4 separate regions of the Homo sapiens genome follow, and all the other regions are linked to region 2. The links are contacts of gene promoters, found by promoter capture Hi-C in blood cells and fetal thymus (Javierre and others, 2016). All regions are on one chromosome and are shown on one strand. The core of a region is centred on a gene start or on the middle of the fragment in contact, and the rest is flanking DNA. Distances in the headings are between cores, read along the strand shown. Region 1 overlaps LOC105378789 (a long non-coding RNA gene). Region 2 holds the start of GADD45A (growth arrest and DNA damage inducible alpha). Region 3 overlaps PDE4B (phosphodiesterase 4B). Region 4 overlaps PDE4B (phosphodiesterase 4B).

Region 1 (3,198 bases), core at 649-3,148, 1.9 Mb before region 2:
TGTCTTTGTTCATTTTTGAGAAAATGTGTGCCAAATATCCAAGTATGAATAGCTATAGTTTGCCTATTTGTCATTCTTTCAAATTAAAATGGTGCTCTATGAAAAGAGATTATTTCAGCTTGCAATTTACACAATCACATAAGTGCTTTTCTTGATACAAATACGTTTGGTTATGTAGTGAAGTGTTTTGGCATTTTTCTCATTTTTCTCCCACAGGATACATTGAAAAGAAGTATATTCAAAGGTTGACATTTAATAAAATTAATAATTTTTATTTTTTCATCAAAACCATTCTTAAGTGAAACTGATATTCTATTATTATTAGTATGACTATTATGTAATTTTATTTTTAAAATGAAAGTGTGTGGTAAAATGCAATGGCTAACAGTATAGCTCAGGGCCACCACCTTGATTCTTGCCTTAAAGCCAGCAATTTTTCTGACCATTGCTCTTGCACCATTAGTGAAAATTTCAATGTAATGAATAAAGCAAACAATGTCTTGATATTATTATGAAAATAGTTTTGGCTTTTCACATTACTTGTAAAGACCTTAAGGACATTCAAGGGTCTTAACGTCTGAGAACTACTGCTCTTCAGAAACCTTTTAAAGTCAGCCAATTTAACCTGTACATTCAATGCAAAGGTTAAAAAAAAAATCTTTGTAACCGCCTTCTCTCCTTGGCATTGTGATAGGTGCTAAGGCTAGAAAGATGTAGAATGCTTCTGCTCTCAAGGAGCAGGAACATGCTAGAGTCATTCTAGCCCTGAGAGTAGAATTTTGAGCCTTCTAATGTCAGTGCTCTGCTAGACAAGCAGAGGGAAATGAGTAGAACACAGGAAGACAGGGAAACACGTCATTCTGTCTGCAGATTCAGGCAACGACATCCAGAGTTGAAAAGAGGTTACCCAGGTGAATAAACAGGAGATGGGATAGTGCTCTAGGCCAAAGAGTAACCCTGAAATAAGGTATGGAGACAAAACATGTGTACAGACTTCAGTATTTCAAAAAATGAAGTTAGAAAAAAATGGGTTTTAGGTCACTCAGAGCTTTGTGTGCCCAGCTAAGTTGTTACAACTTTAAAATGCTGAGATTATGTCAGCAGGACTAGGGGATGAATTAGGCATAGACGGAATGTTAGCAGGTAGCAATAAGGAGTGGAGTGGGAAAAGGGAAATTTGGAGAGTTTAATTTGGAAGCTGTTGAATCTGTGTTTATGACATGCCAAATGAATTGGTACTGCTAGAATATAAATATATGCACCTGAAGCTTAAAGGTGACATCATAGGTATGATGGATTTACATTGTTAGTGTCTAAACGGCAATTACAATTGTGAGACTAGATGAAATAGTGAAAAGACTGTGGAGAGAAAGGAGCAGGGGACCAAGAGTAGATGTCTCAGTAAACGAGAGTTAGCAGGGGAAAAGGAACCTGTGGACGAAGTTGCAAATGAAAAGGCAGAAAGATGAGGGCAAAACTGTTATTGGATGATATTAACACTTAAACCAGTGAATTTAGGGTAACCAGATTGCTCTCTGTAAGGTGGGTGGGTCTCATCCAATCAACTGAAAGCCTGAATACGACAAAAAACCCAGCCTTCCCAAGGAAGAGAAAATTCTTGAGCAAACTGCTTTCAGATTCCACCTGCACCATCAGGTTTCCCGGGTCTCAAGCCTACTGGCCCACATTTCGGATCAGATGTGAACTTGCCAGGCATATATCTATTCTCCACACACCCCTTGGCTCTCTCTGTCCTATTGGTTCTATTTCTCTGGAGAAACCTGAGTAATTCAGAAACTGTGAAAGCAAATTATCATGAAAATAAATTTGTAGAGCAGAGAGTAATCAAGTAAGTTCCTCAGAATATCTCTTCTATTGCATGCTAATGGGTGCTAAAAACAAAGAAAGAAAGAAAGAGTTTTGCTGTAATTATATCTGGGGAATTTCTTGGTGCCATTTTAAATGCACTCAGCACAATCACGTAAAGTGTAAAATGCGAACTTTTAAAATATTTTCAAATCTAATATTTCTAATTCACCCTCACTTTTCTGGGTAGTTAGGGAGTTGCTTTTTATTTTTAAAGATCATTTTAAATTTACAAACTACCTAGTGGTAATAATTTTTAGTTTAAATTAGTTTAAATTCTTATAGGTACATGCTCAGTTTTTCACAGTTCTGCAAACTTCTGCTTTTCCCGCAAATGGCATTTGGATTTCTATAGCAGATTACTGTGTTCTTGTCTTAGAAAGAGAGCCCTGTATCTATGGGTGTTCCTTTTGGACTCTGTAGCGATTACTCTCTTGTCTACTTGGTCACTGCTCTTTCAGCTAAAATTTACTATCCAAGTTGGCAGCTGGTGAGCATATGATGTTTTTTCTGAGTTTGGCCAGGGCCTGTTGTCTTCCCTGATAACTCGACCCTATCTTAGTCCTCACCAGCACTTGAGGTCTGGATGTACCTTAACTGAACCCTAATCTACAACTGCAGAGTTACTTTTCCCAGTCACAGCAACTCGTAGGGTAAGCTTGCTAGCCAGCAGCTTTGCGTGCCTCTCGAAGGCCACTTGGAACTTCTGGCCACCTGCTAAACCCACAGGGCAAGCTGGAATTGACACTGGACGGGTAACTCTTGTTAGCCTCTGTCCAAACACATGATGCCACTGACTTGACTTTGTTTAAACACATTAATATAGTTGCCATTGGTTATGCAGAATACTTTTGCAGGAGGTTCTCCCTACTAAAACCAATGACAGAATGGCCTTTCTGCCCCTGAATTTCCCCTCACCTACATAGCAAACAGCCCTACTTTAGGCTGGAAATGAAAGAACAGGCCACACACATCCCGTCGCTTAATTCCTCCTCTTCAGGATCTCTTGTCCTTCCAAGTATCTATCTGAAATCAAAGAGGCGAAATTTCCACTTCCCCAGGATTTGACCAGATTTCCTTTCATCCATAGAATACTCCTTCCAGAGAAAATATTCCCTCCATTTTCCATTCCCTGAAGCTAGACTAATGGAAATATTGTAGTGAGCATGATTTTTATGACAGAGGAGTAAAAAAGTATGCGTTTACACTTAAATATAATCATGTATGTAAAGATCTGCAAAAAAGTGTTCTATTGCTTTTTTCTCTTAAACTTGATCACAGAGACCTTTTGACAAAAAGAATATTTCAAGATACAAATTTTCTTGAAATGCT
Region 2 (3,254 bases), core at 690-3,189:
TACCCCTGAAAACATAACTTCCCTACCTACCAAAGGTTTTTATCAGGAAAAAAAAAAAGAGCCATTAAAAAAATGCAAGATTGCAGAGAAAAAAAATTCCACTCTATCCTCTTAATGTATTTCTAGGGAATTAACAAGGTTTGTCTCCTACACAATTTCTATTTTTAGCTCTGACTGGCAGAGAATGAAGCTGACTCCTTAATGAGGGGTGAGCCAGGAATTCATTTGGCTTTATCTAATCTGCCCTGCTAAAGGAATTAGTCACGGGAGGCAGTGCAGATGTAGGTAGGGAGTAGCTGGGCTGACTGCTGACTCACAGGGATCTCTTCCGCTGCTGGCAGTCCCCAGCATGCTTAGACATGTTCTGTACCACAGAAAATCCTGGTGATGAAACTAGCACATCTCGGCTGAAAGTCCAGCCACACTCTAGTCGGACAAAGGCAGCCACCCTCCTGACCCCCACCTACCACAGATCCACAATCAGGCAACCCAGCCCTGACTCCCGTCCTTCCGGGGCTCTACCCTGCAGGCTGCAGTCCCCCAGTCCCTTACCGTCACCAGCACGCAGTGCAGGTCCGGGGGCTGCTCGGCGCCCTCGCTCGCCGCGGGGCCAGCGTCGGTCTCCAAGAGCAGGAGCTCCGCCAGCCGGCCCGGGTTGCTGACGCGCAGGATGTTGATGTCGTTCTCGCAGCAAAACGCCTGGATCAGGGTGAAGTGGATCTGCAGAGCCACATCTCTGTCGTCGTCCTCGTCCGCCGCCAGCAGGCACAACACCACGTTATCGGGGTCGCTGGGGGCAGCGGGCGGGGCCAGTGAGCGCAGAAGCGCGGGCGCCCTCAACCACTGCCCGGGTCCCTGGGGGTCGCCGCCCGGCCCGCTCGCCCCCTCCCTTCCGAGACAGGCAGAAAAGCGACAGGAAGTGGCGCGGCCGGGCGAGGGGCGCCCAGCCAAGGCGACCTCCCGGGCTGGGGCGGGAAGGGGTGCCATGGGGGACGCGCAAGGGCCCCACTTACACGTTGAGCAGCTTGGCCGCTTCGTACACCCCGACAGTGATCGTGCGCTGACTCAGGGCTTTGCTGAGCACTTCCTCCAGGGCATCCCCCACCTTATCCATCCTACACGCGGGCAAGGGCGAGGGGTCCCGTCAGCCCCGGTGCCCTCGGGGCCATCGCCGCCCCCCTCGTCCGGTACCACGCCCCTCCCTCTCGAATGCAAGCACCACCGCGCACCTGGGCTCTACGAAAACCCGGCGCTCCCGCGGCCCCGTCACCCCCCATGACCCCTGCACGCCCAAGGACCGGGCGTCCCGTGAGAAGTCCCGAGAGTGCCCCTGCCACAGGCTGCCAGCCACGGGAGCCGCACGGGCAGCGACGGCCACTGCTGCCCTTTGCAAAGGCCCCGGCGGGGCTCGTTCGGGTTGGGGGGCACGCTCTTTCAGTCCGTGGGAGCTCCACGGAGAGTCCCGAGGGAGCAAGGGCGGGAGTTGCCCTGTGCAAACTTTTTAGCTTCCTCCCCTGCAAGCCTTCCACAGCCCGGCTGCACCGGGGAGCGCGGGGTAGGTAAGAGAAGTTCGGGCCGGAAGAGTCCGCAGGCCGACTCACCTTTCGGTCTTCTGCTCTCCAGCCGAGAATTCCTCCAAAGTCATATTGCAAACTGCAGGTCGCCCAGGGAGAGAGCGCGGCGTGCGGGCTGCTCCTGCCACGGCTAGCGCGCGGGCGCCTGCTTTCTGCACTCACTCACAGGCGCCGCTCCGGCAGCTCAGGCCCTGGCGCTCTCCGGCCGCCCCTCGCCCGCCCGGGCTCCTCCTCCTGTGCCAGCCGCCGCAGCTCCGGCCACCCCTCCCGCCTTGCTTGCTCGCTCGCTCCCCGGACCTCGCCTCGCCACGGGCCGCACGACACTAATTGGGCCGCTGCCTCCCAGCCACTGCCTACCAGCCACTGGAGGACAAAGGGCCCCGCTCTCCGGGGTTATCCTGCCAACCCTCAGCCAACCACCTTCCGCCTCATTTGCATGCAGCTTGGCCATTGGGCTATGCAAATCAGCCTGCTCCAGCAATTTGACCCCAGCTCCTGGAGTCAGGTTGAGAGGAGCGGAAAAGGGAGGAGCCACGCGGGAGGCGAGCCGAGGGGGCGGGGGCGGGGGCGGTGCCGAGAGGGGAAGGCGGGTCCCGCGCGCACTCTTATCCGGTTGGCGGGGACCATTGGGAGTGGGGGGCTTTAGCAGAGGCTAGAGGTGGCCTCAGCTTGGGCTGAAGCAGGCTGCCAAGTGTTTTTCTATAATAGTTGCGGCACTTTTTTCTTATTATCTTTTCATGTCTTTTGTTTTAAGGGGTGGCTATTAAAATCTATTTCCAGGGTTAATGCACTGAAGTCTAGTAATTATTAGTAAGCAGGTTACATTAAAAAAGTGTCTCCAGACCTCCGGGGCAAAGTTTACCTCAGAAGTGTTGTTTATCTAAGTCTAGGCGAAGCTGCTTATTAGCAGTAGTATTATTTCGGTGCCCTGATGGCTGGTTTGATTTATTTTTGGAAAGCTGCAAGGGTTGGAAGCTGAAAAAAGAAAAACCAACCCGTTTGTATTCAGGGATGGCAGGGAACCAAGTTAGAATCTTTTCCACAGAAAGCAGAACGGTTTCCCACCTGCCCGGTGTAACTGGGAAATCGTGAGCTGGTCTGCGTGGGGAGCTGGTGACCACATGTGGGAATCCCTGGCAACCCAGATTCTCCTTTCTCAAAGAGCCTTGCCCAAACAAGGATCCTTCTGGACGCCCACCAGCTGAGAGACAACCATCTGACACCCACACAGCCCACAAGTCTAAATTCAAAATGCTCTCGATATGCCCTAAGCTTCCTTTCCTAACGTATGTATGTCGTTACCTTCCACAGAGAGCCTCCTATGATCTCACTGTGAATTATTGATGTTAGATGCTGAATCATGAAGCTGTAACTATAGGAAGTTTTTAGTCATATGCTAAAATTTCACCTTTGAGATAATGGCAACTTGTAGGTGGAAAGCAGACCTTTAAAACTGCAAATGGTAGTTACACATTTTTGAAAAACAAACTTTAATATATAGACTCTCACTGAGTAGTTCAAAAGTCCCTTCCTTTGTTTTATGGTTTATGCAATAAAAGCAAAAACATTTCTTAAACCTACTGAAGTCATCAAAAGTGGTGAAAATGGCTCCCACATGCTTGCATTCAAAACAGTGCTTGCATTATTAAGGTTGCTGTACAGCCAAAGGTCACAGAAGTA
Region 3 (2,991 bases), core at 410-2,909, 1.4 Mb after region 2:
ACTTACAATAAAATGGATAGATGAGAAAGAAATTAAAGAAAGTCCTCTAGTATGTAATAATTATTAAGGTTGTTGGTAGTCCAGTCACTTCGCTTTCTTGCTATGACATTTTCCCCATCCCCTTCTTGATAAGCTATAACATCTGAGGTTTACAGTGGGATGGAGGCAGAGACAGTGTGGTTTAGACTGCAGAGGAAAGAGCATGGGTTTTCAAGAAATACAGATCTAGCTTTCAGTTCTGATTCTATCACTAACTTTGTGGTCTTGAGTGAGCCCCACATACTTCCTGAATCTTCTTTTTCCAAATATGTGAAATAGGGGCAATAATATACGCAAAGAAGTTTAGTTTGGAGAATTAGGTGACGTGATATATTCAAAGGGGCTAGCACTGTGCCTGGCACATACCAGAAATGGAATAAGCACTAGCCCCTTACCTTTCCTGAAATCAGAGGCACACATGTGGGCTTTGGACATTATCTAGTTTATTAGACCAGCAGTGCTAGCCAGACTAGACCCTAGAAATTTGAAGCCCCAAATACAACTGAGGGGGCAGAGAGAAAATAGCATTATCTGACCTGGCTGCCTGTAAGATTCAAATAAGCTGGATAATCGCCATGGTCCCAGCTTACTCTGTGGACACAGCCAGACAGGGGGTAGGAAAAATACAGAAAACTCCAAGGGGTCGCTTTTGGTGCTTGTCAACAGCTCTGACTGGGAGGAAGTCAAGACAATAAACCAAGAAAAAGATCCAGTGAGTTCTGTTGCCTGTTCTCTATTTTGAGGGGACAGTCCCTGCTTTGTTTCCCTCCTCTTGGGTGAAAGGCTGTTCCCTGAAATGCTCCTGGCTTCCGAGAACAGTTCTGGAGGCAACTTCATAATGTGCTGGCTCGGGGTTGATCAGAAGCAAGCAAGCAGAATTCACCCTGCCCCCAGGATCATACCCACTTGGGGAAGCAGGAGGCAGAAAAAGGAACTTCGGTGGTCCTCTTCCTTCCTTGTCTCTTAGCAAACTTCCATATTCATTCTTCTCTAGGCTAACTCCAACCTCCTTTTTTATCTCCCTCCCTTCCAATAAAGAGAGGAGAATGGGTTAAGATGGGTATGAGGTTGCTTTTTCCTTCTCAGCAGTAATTGGAGAGGGTGTAAAGTTTTTCCCAAAAGGGCCAATCCTCTTCCCTTCCTGCAGACTCTGCTAGTGGGTTTTGTCCTCTCTGCAAAGGGAGGCTTTGCACCAGCTCCTAGCGCTACTCCCTGCTAAGCTTCCTGGGTTGTAACACCTATGCCTGAATAGGTGTGTACCAACCCTGAAACATGTATTTCAATACAACTTTGATGTGCTGTACAAGCTGTAATGATGCTATCATATAAAGTGGCATCCTGTCAGGCTTATGCAAGACAGGGCTTTCAGTTAACTAAGATTTGGTTTACCAGAAGTCCTAAGTAATTTGACAATCTTTTTTTGCACTCTGCTTTTAAGAGAAAAAGCTGTATTTAGGGGTGTCCCTTTATATTTGGTGTCAGCTCCATTCTCCCTCCTGACTTTTCAGCTTTCCCATGTATGAGCTGGAGAACTCTACCTTCAGCTCTAAAACTATTTCTATATAACAAGATTTCTATAGTCTCAGGAGGAAAAAAAAAGTCTTAAACTTCAAAAATTACTCCCTTCAGATGGTATTATTATGGAAGCAAAGTAGACCAGAACCTTCTAGAAAGAGCTCAACAGGGCTTTCTGTTGTGGTTCTCTACTGATACCAGAAGGCTGGGATCTTAGCTACCACACATTGGTGGTTTGCTATGTGCTGAGTACTATCTGAGTCATGTTATATAACACTAATAACACCAATACTAACACTGGGACTTTCTACATGCTTTATACATGTTAACATATTTAATCCTTACAACCAAAACACACAATTTCCATCCTAATTTTGGAGACGAGGCAATTAGGACACAGAGAGGTTAAGCAATTTGTCCCAAGGTCACAAAGTGGTGTGGCTGGAATTTGAAAGAGGCAGTCTGACTCCAGAGTCTTCACTCTTAATCACTATATAAAGCTTTTCTCATTTAGCCCTTACAACAATCTTAACATATAGAATATTAAAATGCCCATTTTCAGCTGGGCGCAGTGGCTCATGCCTGTAATCCCAGCACTTTGGGAGGCCGAGGAGGGTGGATCACCTGAGATCAGGAGTTCGAGACCAGCCTGACCAACATGGTGAAACTCCTTCTCTACTAAAAATATATAAAAAAAAAAAAAAATTAGCTGGGTGTTGTGACGCATACCTGTAATCCCAGCTACTTGGGAGGCTGAGGCAGGAGACTCACTTGAACCTGGCAGGCAGAGGTTGCAGTGAGCTGAGATTGTACCATTGCTCTCTAGCCTGGGCAACAAGAGTGAAACTCTATCTCAAAAAAAAAAAAAATGCCCATTTTTCAGACAAGAAAAGTGAGTCTCAGAGAAGTAACTTCTCTGAAGGATTAACTGGGTTCTCAAACCAATTCCATTCAATATGCTACTTGAGTGCCTACTTTGTGGCAAGCACAATGCCAGGCACTAAGAGAACAATATAGTATGATAAAAATTCATTTAGTTGTTTTTCTTCCATTTCTTTTAACACTGCCACTTCTTCCTGAAGTGATGGATAACAAAGAGTTCACTTCAAGTGCCTTGAAAGTCACACGTTGTCAAGATTAGCAAGGGATGTCAGCACTATGCACATGTCCTGAGAGCTAGCAGATATTTCAGTAAGCCTTAACAAAGCTGAACATGAGCCTCACTTCCTTTCTAATCTTATCTGGTTCAGGCATGGGCATTATTTCATCCCTATTTGTTCAGTCCATAAACATTTATTGAGCATTTGCTATGTCCCGGGCTTTATGTTATAAATTGAGGATATAGAAAAAGAGGATTAGTATTTGAACTTGGGATGCTTTTAGTTTAGAATGGGAAAAAATGAAATAATTACAATACAGTATGACAAGTGTAATAAC
Region 4 (3,092 bases), core at 1-2,500, 1.4 Mb after region 2:
TCCTCTGAGCCGCAGCCAGCAAGCCTTGATCCAAAGGTGGTACTTTTACCCCAGGAAAGCTGGAGAAGGGACACACACTCACTGGTGCACCTCAGGGCTGGAAAGGGCATGCTGGCAGGTGTGGAGCAAAATATCTTCTCAGCCCCAGAAACGTAGACAACAAGATGATACTTCAGGCTAGAATGACTGGGACTCTGAAATGTGCACCTATGAGGGTATGGTGTAAGGCTTTTTAACAAAGTGTATGTGTGTGTGTGTGTGTGTACACACACATATATAACTTTGTATAACTTTATAGCAATATGTATTTAATATAATATTCTCCAAGGTAAAAATACAAACAAAAAGCAACAACTCTCACTACATAAATTAGCATTCTAAGTCCAGGTGTTAATTAAACAAATGATATAATGATAGATAATTAAGGCTCTTCAACATTAAGCTTTGTCTGGGGATTGTAAATAAAACCATTTTGGGGGCAGTATGCATGAAGCAATTTCAAATGATTTCACTATGAAAATCAGCAAACTTAAAGAAAACCTCTGGTTTTGGAGACAAAGCATATTGTTTCTTTTTTATCTTAGGTCATGCCAGCATCGCAAAAGAAATCTTAGAAAATCCCAGGATATCCTTCTTTTTAGAGGGAATTTATCAAACTTCAACACAGACCATTCTTTCCCATTGATATATGAAGGTTAAACTACTTTCTTGTTTAAAAATAAATATGTGACACCTGATTGCAATGCAACAAGACTAACTCAGATTTTAGCTTCCTGATAATTGTAAAAAAATTTTAAAGCACTTTCAATGTTATATTGATTTGGAAGCTTTACAGACAGACATCTCTCACCTTAAACCTATTCCAAACTGCATCAGTAAGAGAGAAGTTTTGTTTCTGGAAATTGAAGCGTACTGAGGATTTTAAACTTTTGCTGTAGCATCAAGACACAAGTAGAGTGTGACACTTTGGAAGAGAATCTTCTAGACAAAGCAACAAACATATTCTTAGAGTTGGTAGCATTCCCTGGTGCACTCTGCTGCAGACAGGGGTGAGGGGAGCTGGAGCTCCCTGCATGATCACACTTTAATGAATAAAAAGATCATCTCTTACCTTGTTAGAAGCCATCTCACTGACAGACCGGTAGGTCTGTATGGTCTCTAGCTGGTCTAAACACCAGTCTAATTCCTCCAGCGTTTCCATTGCTAATTTTTGATAAGATTCTTCTGCAAACAAACACACAGGCATGTAGTTAGGCTGGAGCGGCTGCAGGCTGTCCATAGCAGAGTCACCGCTACCACCGCTGATTCCGGTGCTACTGAAGGTGCCCCCGTGCTCCTTCATTATTTGCACGCTGGCTCCTTCCTTCCAGCTCTCTCCACCAGGAGAACAAATCACAGTGGTGCTCTGCCTGGGATGGCTGGTGCCAAGTTTCCCCCCAACCCCCCGCCTGGATGAGGTGTCGGTGATCTACCAAGAAACTTCCTCTGAGGAAGAAGGCGGAGGGAACGGTCTCTTATAAGCTCATCTGCATAAATGTGTCCTAAAACTAAAGGCAGAAGCACCAAAGAGTTTTCTCAGACTCTCTCTGCCTTAGTCATCCCAGGGTTCTTTAGGGTATGTGATGTCATTTCTGAGTGCTTTGCCATCTCAAGGAGAAATGAGGAAAGCTTTTTCTCATTTTGCTTTTCTTCTAAATGAAACAGTCAAAATTCGGGTGAAAACTGGTTGACCATTACGTTCAAAGTCTAGGCAGTCATTCATCCTGAGGATTGTGTTCATGTTGGAATAACTTCTAATTCAGCGAACACTGACCCGCACAAGTAAGAGGCATAGGCTATTCCTTTCTCTCCCTTAAATCTTTCCTTTAATTAGAGGGAAAATGAGGTCTCCCTGATAAGACTCCAGTCTAAAAGAAGCTGTCTGGAGTTTTACGTGAACACGTTTATTGGCCTGGGAGTCCTGCAGCTCTTGTTATACTAAACAAAGCTAAAACTTCCCTTCTGCAAGTGCCAGGATCACAGGGAAATTCTGAACCGGACTTTCAGGTGGAGCCAGATGTGAACACTCTGCAGATTTTTATTTTGATTAAAGCTGGGGGCTCCAATTTGTTGCCCTAAGACTCTAGACTTTCTGGAAATATTGTTGGTATTTCACACAAAAAATATTGTTGTGAAAATCACATTTTTTTGCTAGATAATTAAAATTCTTTTTACATATCCTTAACATGTCATTTTATATCCAAAAGTTTGTGAATCTAAACAAATACTTCAGGTTACTGGCTTAAGAAATCTATCTTAATAAGCACTGAAATAACTTTATAAATGCTAGATGAATTAATGAAGCTACAGAGAGTTGTAAAAAGCACTTGGACTCTCCTATATACACGACTGTTTTTGAGAGAAATAGCATTTATAAACTCTACCAAGATTTCTGAAATACAAACACACAATAGGCACTAATAAAATGTAAAATCTCACATGGAGTTCTAATATAACATTCCTGCCATATTTAAAAGACATTTTTATACATTTATACAGAAATTCTAGCAAGACCACATGGTTTTTAAAAATTATTATATGAATAATCTTATGTCTGTGGTGTGCAAATACTTGAAGCAGAAAAGAGAATCAACAGAACTGTGATTCCAAGTAACTGGAATCACTTGGCCACAGACGCATATTTCAAAGAATAGTTGCTTTGTTTATCCCCGAAATATTCATACACTTCAAGATAAACAGGGGTTAAATTCAATATCCTGTATGTCATGCTTAAAAAGCCACAAAACCACTGGAGGTAACTTCCTCCATTTTTTTTTCACACTCTTCAAAAATGTGCAGACAAGAATTGAGGTGTTTTTAATAAAACTCATTTCAAGCCAGACTTACACATACCTTCCTTCCTTTCTTCATCTTCAATTTTGCAATGCTGCCTCAACACGAAGATTCTCTGACTTACTCTCTAGTGTGTCCGAAACAACCCCTTGCCTCCTCTGTTTGCTTCCAGAAGAGCACTTCTTCCAAGGAAGCCTTTTCTGAAGAGACAGAACCCTCCCATTCTCATTCCCTGCCTCTAATAAAGGAAAAAGTCCAAC

The links. Contacts are between HindIII fragments. The CHiCAGO score rates a contact against its expected background, and 5 or more counts as called.
Region 1: a contact is called between a fragment that was not itself captured here and the fragment with the promoter of GADD45A in region 2, in 1 of 17 cell types (erythroblasts). The highest score is 5.6, in erythroblasts.
Region 3: a contact is called between a fragment that was not itself captured here and the fragment with the promoter of GADD45A in region 2, in 3 of 17 cell types (total CD4 T cells, total CD8 T cells and activated CD4 T cells). The highest score is 5.8, in total CD4 T cells.
Region 4: a contact is called between a fragment that was not itself captured here and the fragment with the promoter of GADD45A in region 2, in 1 of 17 cell types (naive CD4 T cells). The highest score is 6.2, in naive CD4 T cells.

Annotation. Positions count from the first base shown.
Region 1 is chr1:69,539,488-69,542,685 of GRCh38, reverse strand. The region is part of intron 3 of LOC105378789 (a long non-coding RNA gene); the gene reads right to left. Among named protein-coding and RNA genes, the nearest start is that of LRRC7, 27 kb to the left of the region's middle. The HindIII fragment of the contact is 1,256 bases long and covers 1,271-2,526 here.
Region 2 is chr1:67,683,886-67,687,139 of GRCh38, reverse strand. It overlaps GADD45A (growth arrest and DNA damage inducible alpha), which reads right to left and starts at 1,939. Exons shown (of 4, transcript NM_001924.4): 1 at 1,602-1,939; 2 at 1,014-1,115; 3 at 553-790. The coding sequence starts at 1,645. RefSeq lists enhancers at 9-510, 246-685, 716-765, 1-968 and silencers at 866-1,005, 1,076-1,205, 1,676-1,835, 2,026-2,085, 2,096-2,275. The HindIII fragment of the contact is 4,802 bases long and covers 1-2,848 here.
Region 3 is chr1:66,273,596-66,276,586 of GRCh38, reverse strand. The region is part of intron 7 of PDE4B (phosphodiesterase 4B); the gene reads right to left. Among named protein-coding and RNA genes, the nearest start is that of PDE4B-AS1, 220 kb to the right of the region's middle. The HindIII fragment of the contact is 795 bases long and covers 1,262-2,056 here.
Region 4 is chr1:66,330,640-66,333,731 of GRCh38, reverse strand. It overlaps PDE4B (phosphodiesterase 4B), which reads right to left. Exons shown (of 17, transcript NM_002600.4): 8 at 1,112-1,224. Among named protein-coding and RNA genes, the nearest start is that of SGIP1, 200 kb to the left of the region's middle. RefSeq lists enhancers at 80-129, 160-219. The HindIII fragment of the contact is 841 bases long and covers 830-1,670 here.